Linked DNA regions of Homo sapiens: region 2 is linked to region 1. Evidence: promoter capture Hi-C in 16 types of primary human blood cells and fetal thymus (Javierre and others, 2016). All regions are on one chromosome and are shown on one strand. The core of a region is centred on a gene start or on the middle of the fragment in contact, and the rest is flanking DNA. Distances in the headings are between cores, read along the strand shown.

Region 1 (5,737 bases), core at 2,669-5,168:
TGGTGGCTCATGCCTGTAATCCCATCACTTTGGGAGGTGGAGGCAGGCGGATCACTTGAGGTCAGGAGTTCAAGACCAGCCTGGCCAACAAGGTGAAACCCCGTCTCTACTAAAAGTACAAAAATTAGCCAGGCGTGGTGGCGCGTGCCTGTAGTCCCAGCTACTCAGGAGGCTGAGGCAGGACAATCGCTTGAACCTGGCAGGTGGAGGTTGCAGTGAGCCGAGATCGCACCACTGCACTCCAGCCTGGGCAAAAGAGTGAGACTCCATCTCAAAAAAGAAAAAAAAAGTTCCTCTATGGGATGGTCTTTCCAATTTTCTTTTTTCTTTCTTTCTTTTTTTTTTGAGACGGAGTCTCGCTCTGTCGCCCAGGCTGGAGCGCAGTGGTGCGATCTCGGCTCACTGCAAGCTCCGCCTCCTGGGTTGAGGCCATTCTCCTGCCTCAGGCTCCCGAGTAGCTGGGACTACAGGCGCCCCCACCACGCCCGGCTAATTTTTTTGTATTTTAGTAGAGATGGGGTTTCACCGTGTTAGCCAGGATGGTCTGGATCTCCTGACCTCATGATCCGCCCACCTCAGCCTCCCAAAGTGCTGGGATTACAGGCGTGAGCCGGCAGCTGCATATTTTCTTATCTGTTTATTAAGTCTGTTTAAGAATTCCACGGGCCTGGCCAGGCGCGGTGGCTCACGCCTGTAATCCCAGCACTTTGGGAGGCCGACGTGGGCAGATCACAAGGTCAGGAGATCGAGACCATCTTGGCCAACATGGTGAAACCCTGTCTCCACTAAAATACAAAAAATTAGCCAGGCGTGGTGGCGGGCGCCTGTAATCCCAGCTACTTGGGAGGCTGAGGCAGGAGAATCGCTTGAACCCGGGAGGCGGAGGTTGGAGTGAGCTGAGATCGCGCCACTGAACTCCAGCCTGGGCGACAGAGCGAGACTCTGTCTCCAAAAAAAACCCCATGGGCCCTTCATGTTTCCTCTGTTGTACGTTAAATGCTCGGGAAGTATTTTGGGTTTGCAGATCTGATTCCCGAATCCTTGTAATTATCCCATCTCCGAGATCGCTCATGTTTTTTAGGTCACATTGTCATCCCACCCAGGATCTTGGGCCAGGAATTTACGCTCCGCTGAAAGGACGTTCTGACCGGGGGGTGTTCACGCTCCCAGACTAACACAGCGGCCTGTGAATCATGGTTCTCTCTCTCCTGAGACGAGAGTACTGAGGGTAGACATTAATTCAGCCCAAGCGTACAGCTGTGGCCCCAGAAATTGGTCAATTTGATCCGCGAATCCAAAAGGGTCATCTAACAGTGGTTTGAGTTCTTTTAGATTTCTAACCTCTGAACTGGTTAAAGGGGGCATTTACGAAGTCAATATCCCTTCCTCCCGGTGGTCCTTCCCTAAAGGGGAAAAGGGCTGAGGCAGGTCTTTTTGAGCAGGAGGCAAAAGGAAAGTTCTGTGGGTTTTTGTTTGTTTGTTTGTTTTTTGAGACGGAGTCTCGCTCTTGTTGCCGAGGCTGGAGTGCGGTGGCGCGATCTCGGCTCACTGCAAGCTCCACCTCCCGGGTTCAAGACATTCCCTGCCTCAGCCTCCCGAGTAGCTGAGTAGCTGGAATTACAGGCGCCCGCCACCACGTCCGGCTAATTTTCGTATTTTTAGTAGAGGCGAGGTTTCATCATCGTGGCCAGGCTGCCAGTCCTGAACTCCTGGCCTCGTGATCCACCCGCCTCTGCCTCCCAAAGTGCTGGAATTACAGGCGTGAGCCACCGCGCCCGGCCGAAAGTTTCGAATATCCCTTTGGCATTGTTCTGTTTCCCGTTGGAGCTTTCCTGAGGAAGGGGCATGTTCTAGTGGCTGTCCAGCGGGGATGTGGGTGGCAAGGTCCAGGTGGTTCTATAGGGGAGGGATGGAGGGGCGGAGGAGCGGGTGGGGGAGGGGCGGAGGGGCGAGGGGTGGGTGGGAGGGGCGGAGGGGCGGGTTGGGGAGGGGCGGAGGGGTGGGGTGGGTGGGTGGGGGGGGCGGAGGGGTGGGTTGGGAGGGGCGGAGGGGGTGGGTTGGGAGGGGCGGAGGGGGTGGGTTGGGAGGGGCGGAGGGGGTGGGTTGGGAGGGGCGGAGGGGGTGGGTTGGGAGGGGCGGAGGGGTGAGTGGGGGAAGGTGGTCTAGAGGATCCCACCCTTCTTTAGATATGGGGCGTCTCTGCTAAAAATACAAAAATTAGCCGGGCGTGGTGGTGCGCGCCTGTAATCCCAGCTACTCAGGAGGCTGAGGCAGGAGAATCGCTTGAACCCGGGAGGCGGAGGTTGCAGAGAGTCGAGATCGCGCCGCTGCACTCCAGCCTGGGTGACACAGCGAGACTCCAACACACACACACACAAAAGATATGGCGCGTCTCATTCATTCACAAGTTCCTCTTCAAAGGTTTGGCTCGTTCAGCGCCCTCGTTCTTCGTTTCCTACTTCCAAGGCCAACCTGACTTCCTCACCCTCTGGGCCTCCCCGTCTGAGTCTCAGTAAACAAGTTTCCCGCCGGTCCTGATCTGCAGAGATGGCACCTGCCACCCACTCTGCACATCCCCCTCCCGTCGCCACGGGCTCTTCCCGCCAGTGTAGCCACATTCCTGCCCCTTTCCAGTTAGCCCTTCGCGTTCGGCTTAGTCTGCGGTCCTCTTGCATTGCGACTCCGAGTTTAACTTCCAACACACACTTTCAACCTCCAAGAGACGCCCCCACCTGTGTCGCCCCAATAGCGACTTTTCTCACCGTGGTCGCCGCGGAACTTCAAGGGTCCTTCCTACCCGCGTTGCTGAGAGTCTGGGTTTACGCGTCACCTCGGGCGGGACCCGATCCTCCGCTCCTGAGGCCCCCACAATGAAGCAGTCGGACGCGTCTCCCCAAGAAAGGTAACCGCCAGCCTCTCCTGAAACAGAATGGGATCCAAATGGGATATTTGGGGGCGGCGAGTCGGTCCCGCAAAGAGAAACCAGCACTTAGAAAATTTCTCAGCGAGACCACTTTACTTGTACGGAAGGGGGCTGCCTGCGTGGGATGCAATCTCCAGAGCACACGGGACAAAGGAAGGGAGCTTCTGTTCCTCTGTCCTTTCCCTGTTGGCTGGGGTTGGACGCCCACAATCTAAGCTGATCCCGGTTGGCTAAAACTTAAAACTTTTTTAAAATAGGGTAAACGCGCCACCTGCGAGGAAAGAAGAAGGGGGTAAGGTTGATTGACAACTTTAGACCTGGAAGTTGAGTTTCTGAAGAGGAACTTACTTGTCCCAACCAAATGGTGCACAGGACGTTTATACTAAGAAATTATTCATTTTCTGAGATCCAGATTCAAGTGCCCTTTAAGTATTTTTATTTGGGCGGAGGAGGTCACTTCCTCCCACCTAATTTATTAATACGTTCATATATATATATATATATGTACATTTTTAAAGGCAGAGATGTGCGTCTCGCCATGTTGCCGCGTCTGGTCTCGAGCTCCCGGGCTCAAGCGATCTTCCCGCCTCGACCTCCCAAGGCTCTGGGAGTACAGACGTGAGCCACAGCGGCCGGCCCGTGTTTAACTCAGATAAAATCTGGGTAACACACTTTCAACGCTTCAACCCCCTCGGGCGCACCGCTCTGCGCTCATTGCAACTTTGAAAGCAGGAAGGAAGAAATGCGCAGGCTCCAGCCGCGTCCCCGCAGGCCCCACTCCCGTTTCCTAGCAACGCCGGGTCACGTGCGCCGCCGCCCGGATTCCGTAGCGTGAGCCTGCCGGAGCCGGCGCGTACATGCGAGCGTGTGCGCGCGTGCGCAGGCGGGGCGACCGGCGTCCCCGGCGCTCGCCCCGCCCCCGAGATGACGCCGTGCGTGCGCGCGCCCGGTCCGCGCCTCCGCCGCTTTTTATAGCGGCCGCGGGCGGCGGCGGCAGCGGTTGGAGGTTGTAGGACCGGCGAGGAATAGGAATCATGGCGGCTGCGCTGTTCGTGCTGCTGGGATTCGCGCTGCTGGGCACCCACGGAGCCTCCGGGGCTGGTGAGGAGCGGGTAGGGGGCGGGGGTGCGGTCCTGCAGGGGCCGGGAATGGAGGCCGCGGTGCCGACCCGAAGCCGACGGGAGCCTGGGGCCTCGGCGCGGGGCGGCCTGGGGTGCGAAAGGCCGGCCCCGGGGGCTTCCCGCGCCAGCATGGAGCTTGGGGGTGAAGTCCCAGGGTTTGAGGGGGGACTAGAGGTTCCTCCCGGCGCGGCCTGCCGGGCTCCCCCGGGCGCTCCGGCCTCGAGCCCGGCCTCTGTGTGTGGGCGTGAAGCTCCCTGCTTGGAGGCGGGAGCCAGGGGGTCCTGGCCAGGCCGGTCTTGGTCAGGGGAGGTGGGCGTCTTGCTTTTCGGTCACCTGGGGTTGGGGGTGACCTGCTTCCTGGGTGAGGGCGTCTGCGAAGGCGGTTGGAGGTGGCCCGCCCGCCGGTCCCATCGGCCAGGAGAAGGGAGACCCAAAGCCTGGGTGAGCGTCCCCTTTGGCCTGGAGCCAGGGGTCAGGGGCTGGTTGGTGCCTGCCCAACCCGTCCTGCTGGGGCTGGACTCCGCAGGACCTGGGGAAAGCGGCCTGGGCGTGGAATCTGGAGACGGGTCCACCCTGCCTGCGAGTGTTAGGGTCAGAGACCCTCCCCTGAGACTCTCTGGGGCCCCCGCAAGGGCCCGTGCGGCCTGGAGCGATCATCTTGGCGCTCCCTTCTGGAAAAGGGGCTTTTGTCCTCCAAGAGCACATGGAGGCTCTGAGTGGGTCAGCCCTCCGGATCGGGAAGGGATTACCGTTCTTCACGGGATTTAGCCCTGGCGTCTTGCCTAGGGCGTGCACCTGCCCCCGGGTGTTCTCCCAGACTCTTAAGACCTCGCAGGCTCCCTCGAGGGGCCCTGCGTGGAAGGGAAGGCGGAATCTCCCTCTGATTCTGCCTGGATTCAGCACCCAGAATGAGGTGGTCTCTGAACGCCCCTCCTCCTTTACAGGCGAGGAAACAGCCCTGTGGGAAGTCGAGGTTCCAAGGTCACAGTGAGGGGGCCCTGGCCACCCGATTCAGCGCAGGAAATAGTGAGAAAGTCGTTTTTAGCCGACTCTGACCCGCATTCGGTTTCCAGTGCTGTCTTAGGAGGGCCGTGTGTTGAGGGTGGGCAAACGTGGTTTGGAGAGCGCATTTGGGAAATGGATTGAGGTGTGTTTTTCCGGGAGAAAAGCATGACATCCTTTCTTGCTTCATAGAAAATTTCTTCCTTTGTTGAGACCCCCATTTGGTTCTGGGTTAAAGATTTATAGTGAGGCCGGGCGTGGTGGCTCACACCTGTAATCCCAGCACTTTGGGAGGCTGAGGCGGGTGGATCACCTGAGGTCAGGAGTTCAAGACCAGCCTGGCCAACATGGTGAAACCCCATCTCTACTAAAAATACAAAAATTAGCTGGGCGTGTTGGCGCACGCCTGTAATCCCAGCCACTCAGGAAGCTGAGGCAAGAGAATCGCTTGAACCTGGGAGGTGAAGGTTGCAGTGAGCTGATATCATGCCACTGCACTCCAGCCTGGGTAACAGGGAGACTCTGTCTTTAAAAAAAAAAAAAAAAGAGGTCGGGCATGGTGGCTCACGCCTGTAATCCCAGCACTTTGGGAGGCCGAGGCGGGCGGATCACGAGGTCAAGAGATCAAGACCATCGTGGCTAACACGGTGAAACCCCGTCTCTACTAAAAATACAAAAAATTAGCCTGGCG
Region 2 (5,737 bases), core at 2,080-4,579, 840 kb after region 1:
TGAGGGATGGGCCCGGGGTCACCCCAGGGGGTGGAAGATCCGGAGCTGGGAGTCCACACTCCTCCACTGCCCGCCCCGCACAGAGGGCGCTCCTGGTCAGGCGGCTATGTTCATGGTGCGACCCGTCAATCTGAGGTTGTGCTGTCTTCTGTGAACTGAGGCCTTTTCCCATCCAGGCCTGGTCCCCGTGACACCATGTCATGATGTCAGAATCCCTGAGAGCTGTGACAGGGCTTTTGGCAGAGGCCAGTCATTCGACAGATGCTTATAGGCTGAGCTTCCAGCTTGGCTCCAGGCGTTGCCAAGGAGAACACTGGTCCGCCTGGGAGGGCGGGGCTGGCAGGGAGAGGATGAGGGTGACCACAGTTAGCACCCAGGATGTGGGCATTCAGGGGCTCCTTCAGCACACAGCAGCGCGTTCCAGTTCACGGACCGCTCCTGTGTTCTGTGGACCCCACACCCTGCAGGCGTGGGCTGGAGGGGGGGCATCTGACCCTGCTGGGGAGAGGGAGTCCAGGCTATGGAGGGGCGGGCTGGGCTCACTGGCCTGAGGCAGTGGGTGAAGTGGTCCTGGTTTCCCACCTGGTCTTAGGGGCAGGAAAGTCCCTAGAGGCTCTTCCTGATGCTCTGGAAGAAGAGAAGGGTTCCCCACACATCAGCCGCCACTGGGCCTGGACTTCTGCCTCTTGAGATTGTGCACGGAGCTGAGTGTGACTGGCGGAGCCCAGAGCCAGGTGGGGTCTGTGGGGAGGCAGGCTCCTCCTGGCTTGGTCCCCCGGCCCAGCAGGAAGGGAAAGGTCGCCTGCCAACTGCCCCCATTGAGGCTGCTGGCCCCGAATGGCCGGGCTGGCCGCCGGTTTTTGAAGCCCACTCTGGTGCTGCCAGGAGGTCAGGGCTCTTTGTGGTCAGCCTAGGCCAGAGGAAGCCTCTGCAGATGGACTTTACGCATAAATACCGCACAGGCACCCGAATGGCACGCAGCAAGCGAGGTTGCCATCCAAAACGGCTTTTGCTTTAACAGGCAGAAGAGGGTGGCTGCGCCGGCCACCGTGGATTGAGCACCTGCCAGGTGTCGAGCTGCAGGCCCTGGGTGCCAGGCTTGCAGATCCTGGGAGATGTTCATCATGACCTTTGATGGGCAGACTGCACGCTGGACTCCAGGTTGCAAGGGAAGAAGTGGAGCTCGTCCCACGCCTCCCCCACTAATGAGAACACCCCTTTTGGGTTTGTGGGGTGTGAGGTCTGTAGGAGCCACGACTTCCAGTGTCGGAGATGCCGTCAGCTGGGTGATGACTCTCCCACCCAGCGGGCCCCTCAGAGGCAGGGTGCAGGAGCCACATTGCTCACCGACCCCTTCATCTGCGTAGGCCAGTGTTGCCTTGCCCCGTTAACGTCCTCAGTCCACACGCCGCCAGCCAAGGTGCAGGCTGAGCAAGCCTGGAGCTGAGGACAAGCGGACCGCCAGCCCCGTAGCAAGCCCACGAGAGCCAGCAGCTCCTCCTTTTGGCCTCTGCCCGCGCCCGGCTTCCTGGACTCCGACGTTTACTTGTGTGAGAGTTGGTTCTGCTGCCTGGGCAGTTGATGGACAGTGTCTGGGAGGTGCCTGCCCAGGGCTCCGCATGTTTCTGATGTGCCGGCTTCTCACTCACGACCTGGTGAGGTTGGCAGCCAGGAGCTTTCTTATTTTATTGATTAAAACATCCTGAGATTCAGAAGTAGGGACTTTGTGCCAGGGCCCTGGAGGCAGTCCCTGCCACTGAAGAGATGACCCTGCTTTCCGGGACTTCCCGGAGGCTTCTGTCTGTAGACCAGGGAGAAGGTGTTCGCCGGTGGCTCCTGAGTGGTAGTAAAAGACACATGGACACAGGAAGCTTTAGCGTTAGAAGCTGCTCTCAAATATCTCAACAGAAACACACAGTGTGGCCGCGCGCGGTGCCTCACGCCTGTCATCCTAGCACTTTGGGAGGCCGAGGCGGGCGGGTCACCTGCGGTGGGGAGCTCCAGACACAGCTATGTGAAACGAAAGCTATCTGTTGCTGTCTCAGATTCCATAAGGACTGAGACTTGTTTCAAAAGAAACTGAAATTCTGTCTTGTTCTCAGTAATGAAAGTCTTTTATACCATAATTGTATATATAACTTCTGACTTACAGGAAAATTACAAAAATTCCCATATCCTCTTGGCCCTGCCAGACTCACCATTGGCTGACATTTTACCCTTTGGCACGTGGTGCCTCTTGCCCCACCCCCAGTGAACTGTGTGTGTGTGTGTGTGTGTGTGTGTGTGTGTGTGTGTGTGTTTAGATGGACCCTCACTCTGTCGCCCAGGCTGGAGTGCAGTGGCTTGATCTTGGCTCAGTGCAACCTCCGCCTCCCGGGTTCAAGCAGTACACCTCGAGCTCAGCCTCCCGAGTGGCTAGGATTACAGGTGCGCACCACCGAGCCCAGCTAATTTTTGTATTTTTAGTAGAGATGGGGTTTTGCCATGTTGGCCAGGCTGGTCTCGAACTCCTGACCTCAGGTGATCCGCCCACCTCAGCCTTGCAAAGTGCTGGGATTACAGGCGTGAGCCAGTGCACCCATCCCCACTGTGTGTGTTTCTACTGAAATATTTGAGAGTAGCTGGAGACCGATGCAGTCCCCTTTATGTGTACACTGAGATATCTATTGTTTCCCAAGAACAATGACATTCTCTCACATGAACACAGCACAGTGATCAAAATTGAGAAAGTGGCCGGGCGCAGCTACTCACGCCTGTCATCCCAGCACTTTGAGAGGCCGAGGCTGGTGGATCACGAGGTCAAGAGATTGAGACCATCCTGGCCAATATGGTGAAACCCCGTCTCTACTAAAAATACAAAAATTAGCTGGCGGGCGCCTGTAGTCCCAGCTACTCGGGAGGCTGAGGCAGGAGAATCGCTTGAACCCGGGAGGCGGAGGTTGCAGTGAGCTGAGATCGCGCCACTACACTCCAGCCTGGGCAACACAGCGAGACAATTTTTCAAAAAAAAATTGAGAAAGTATTTATTATTTTTTAAAATTGTATTTGAGTATTTTTTATTTTTTTAATTTTATTTAAGAGTATTTTTTATTTTTTTTTTAATTTTATTTAAGAGATGAGATCTCTGTCACCCCTGCTGGAGTGCAGTGACACAATCACGGCTCACTGCAGCCTCGACCTTGACTCAAACGATCCTTCTGCCTCAGCCTCCCAAGTAGCTGGGACTACAGGTGCCTGCCACCACCTGGAGTCTCGTTACGTTGCCCAGGCTGGTCTTGAACTCCTGGCCTCCCGTAATGCTGTGATTATAGGCGTGATCTGCGCCCAGCTGAGAAAGACAGTACTGATACCAGGTTATCTAACCCCCCCGGCCCTGTTTCAGGTTTCTCAGCTGAGCGTTTCTAGCCCTTCCCCCTTAATACACAATTTTTGAAATTTAAATGAAGACCGAAACTGGACTGGTCTGACGAGTTCCTTCTGCCAGTGAGGTGGGGGTGGAGGGGGTACTGGGCTGCTTGGAGGACACCTGCCTGTTACCTGGCTGTTGGGTGGGTGCAGTGCTGACTACAGGCTGCTGTTTCTTCAAGTGACTTGGATTTGGTTTGGTTTTCAGGGTTTTATGTGTGTGTGTGTGTGTGTGTGTGTGTGTGTGTGTGTTTTGTTTTTTTTTTTTTTTTTGAGAACTGCTTGAACTTTAATTCCAAAGGATTGTGTAAATGAGCATTTTTCCGGTCGGTTCCAGCCAGGCTTGGGGGCCCTTCCTTCATGGGGTGGGGGCTGCTGCTGGCTCCTGCTGGGTGCCGGGCCCTGCTGGCAGGGATGTGGGCGGGGCTGGCCCTGACTCAGCGCGGGCACAGCCTATGGAGAGTGAGGCACAGCCTATGGAGAGTGAGGCACGCGGAGGCCTCGCTCCTCCCACGGTCTCTAGGCCTGACCTCAACGCTCCCTGGCCTGATTGCGAAGGGTGCGTGGGAGACGTAGGATTTTAAGTTAATGAGGCCTCAACCTAAGCCTGTTGCTGTTGCGTGATCAGCATGGTTTTCCCTGAAATTTGCCTTTTCAGATCTCGTCTCTAAGGGTCAGGAAGCACAGGGCGGCTGGCACACCCCGCCTCTAATTCTTCCCGCCTCAGCCCTCCCCACCGAAGAACGGGGCTGGGGGGTTGCTTGTTGACGTTTTGAAGACGGCAGTGGGTGCCTTTCCTGTGGTGGGAACATGCTTTGTTTTTCACACACTAAATTTAAATCAGTCGTTCTTAGGGAAAAAAGAAGGAACAGGGACAAGCTCCTGGCGGTTGGCTGTGGCAGACACTTCACCAGGGGCTGACTCGCGGGGGCTGAGTGTACAGGCCCCAGGTGGTGGTTGATGAGAGGTGATGAGTGTGCCAGCCACCTTGCAGGGGTCTTTCCTGGCGAGCTGGCAGGAGCAGGGAGGAGCACGTTGCTCCTGCTGCTGGTGGGGCAGTAACGTGTTCAACCTGACAGCGACGTTTTTGCTGAAAGCCGAAGCCAAGGGTGGTGTGGTTGGCCGTCAGGGATACAGGGCCCCGCGTGGGAATGGTGCTTTCAGTGAGGCTGGCAGGATTCTTGCGGCTCAGGTGGGAGCTTTGGCCTGCACGGTGTTTTGCTCTCTGGAGACCAAGGGTGATGATGGTGCTGGCACTGAGTCACAGCTGAGATTCAGCTCAGGGACTTCATTTCTGAATGCGTGTCCTCTTTCCCAGGGAAAGCAGGCAGGATGGGAGAGTCGCCGATAGAACCACCTCTTCCCTGCCTCCTGGGCTTGGGGGAAGCTTGAATGACATCTAAGGCCCCGTGCCTGGGTAAGCCTTGTGGTGTCTCAGACATGCCCAGTGGGTGCCATGGCTGACTCAAGGTGGCACAGTCCCCATTGGGAGTTGGCACAGTCCCCATTGGGAGTTGGCACAGCCAAGGCCCTGGGGCCACCTGGAGCGGCAGTGAGGTGGAAAGGTGAGTGGGCCCTTGGGCGTCGCTGCAGGGTCGATGGCGGACGCCTTGGGAGAGCTCCAGCTCTTCTGCCCGGAGGAGACAGCCCCAGGACGGGGGTGGCGCGGGTCTTTGGTGGGGGCAGGCAGGAAGTGCCAGTGCTGAGACTGAATTTCAGGCCCTTCTCATCTGCCAATAAGAGACAGCCCCAGAATGGGGGTGGCGCGGGTTTGTCGGGGGTAAGTAAGTGGGGCCAGTGCTGAGACTGGAGCTTCAGGGCCTTCACCTTCATCTGTGGGCCTCTCGTTAGTTCGTGAGTGCAGGCTCATTGGGAGGCTTCTGTCTGTGTCCCCCCACCCCCGCCCCAGGCTGTAATTCAGAGGCCGTGTGGCATAGGCTTCTAGTTTACTGTGCATCATTTCAGATGTAGACTTCTACATTCTTTTTCCTGATTATAAAATACTCGCAAAAGCTGTAGGAAAGCGAGCCTGTGTCCCACTTGGCAGCAGTGCAGGTGAGCGTGGTGCCGTCACCACTGGCCTGTCCCAGGAACTCATCGCCCGCCACGCATGAGGTCAGCGTGCGGCTCTGTGGCACGGTCCTCTCCCCATGGCAAGGATTGGGATCATCTTTCATGTCTGCAGACAGCATGGGCGAGGCTGACTCGCCATTGCTGTGAGCTTTGTATGCCGTCACGTGCACAAGGACGTTTGCGTCAGCTGCTTCTGTGGTTTGAATTAAGACCTCAGCTTGGCTTGGATGGGGGCATTTCTAAGGCGAGCGCTGTCTTG

The links. Contacts are between HindIII fragments. The CHiCAGO score rates a contact against its expected background, and 5 or more counts as called.
Region 2: a contact is called between a fragment that was not itself captured here and the fragment with the promoter of BSG in region 1, in 1 of 17 cell types (neutrophils). The highest score is 5.6, in neutrophils.

What each region holds. Positions count from the first base shown.
Region 1 is chr19:568,678-574,414 of GRCh38, forward strand. BSG (basigin (Ok blood group)) reads left to right here and starts at 3,919. Exons shown (of 9, transcript NM_001728.4): 1 at 3,919-4,024. The coding sequence starts at 3,958. It overlaps BSG-AS1 (BSG antisense RNA 1), which reads right to left and starts at 3,571. Exons shown (of 3, transcript NR_184018.1): 1 at 3,432-3,571; 2 at 2,763-2,919. RefSeq lists enhancers at 2,167-2,739, 2,820-2,869 and silencers at 3,690-3,909, 4,080-4,259. The HindIII fragment of the contact is 7,021 bases long and covers 1-5,737 here.
Region 2 is chr19:1,411,734-1,417,470 of GRCh38, forward strand. All of the region lies in intron 1 of DAZAP1 (DAZ associated protein 1), which reads left to right. Among named protein-coding and RNA genes, the nearest start is that of DAZAP1, 7.0 kb to the left of the region's middle. RefSeq lists enhancers at 4,201-4,794, 4,795-5,389. The HindIII fragment of the contact is 2,921 bases long and covers 1,870-4,790 here.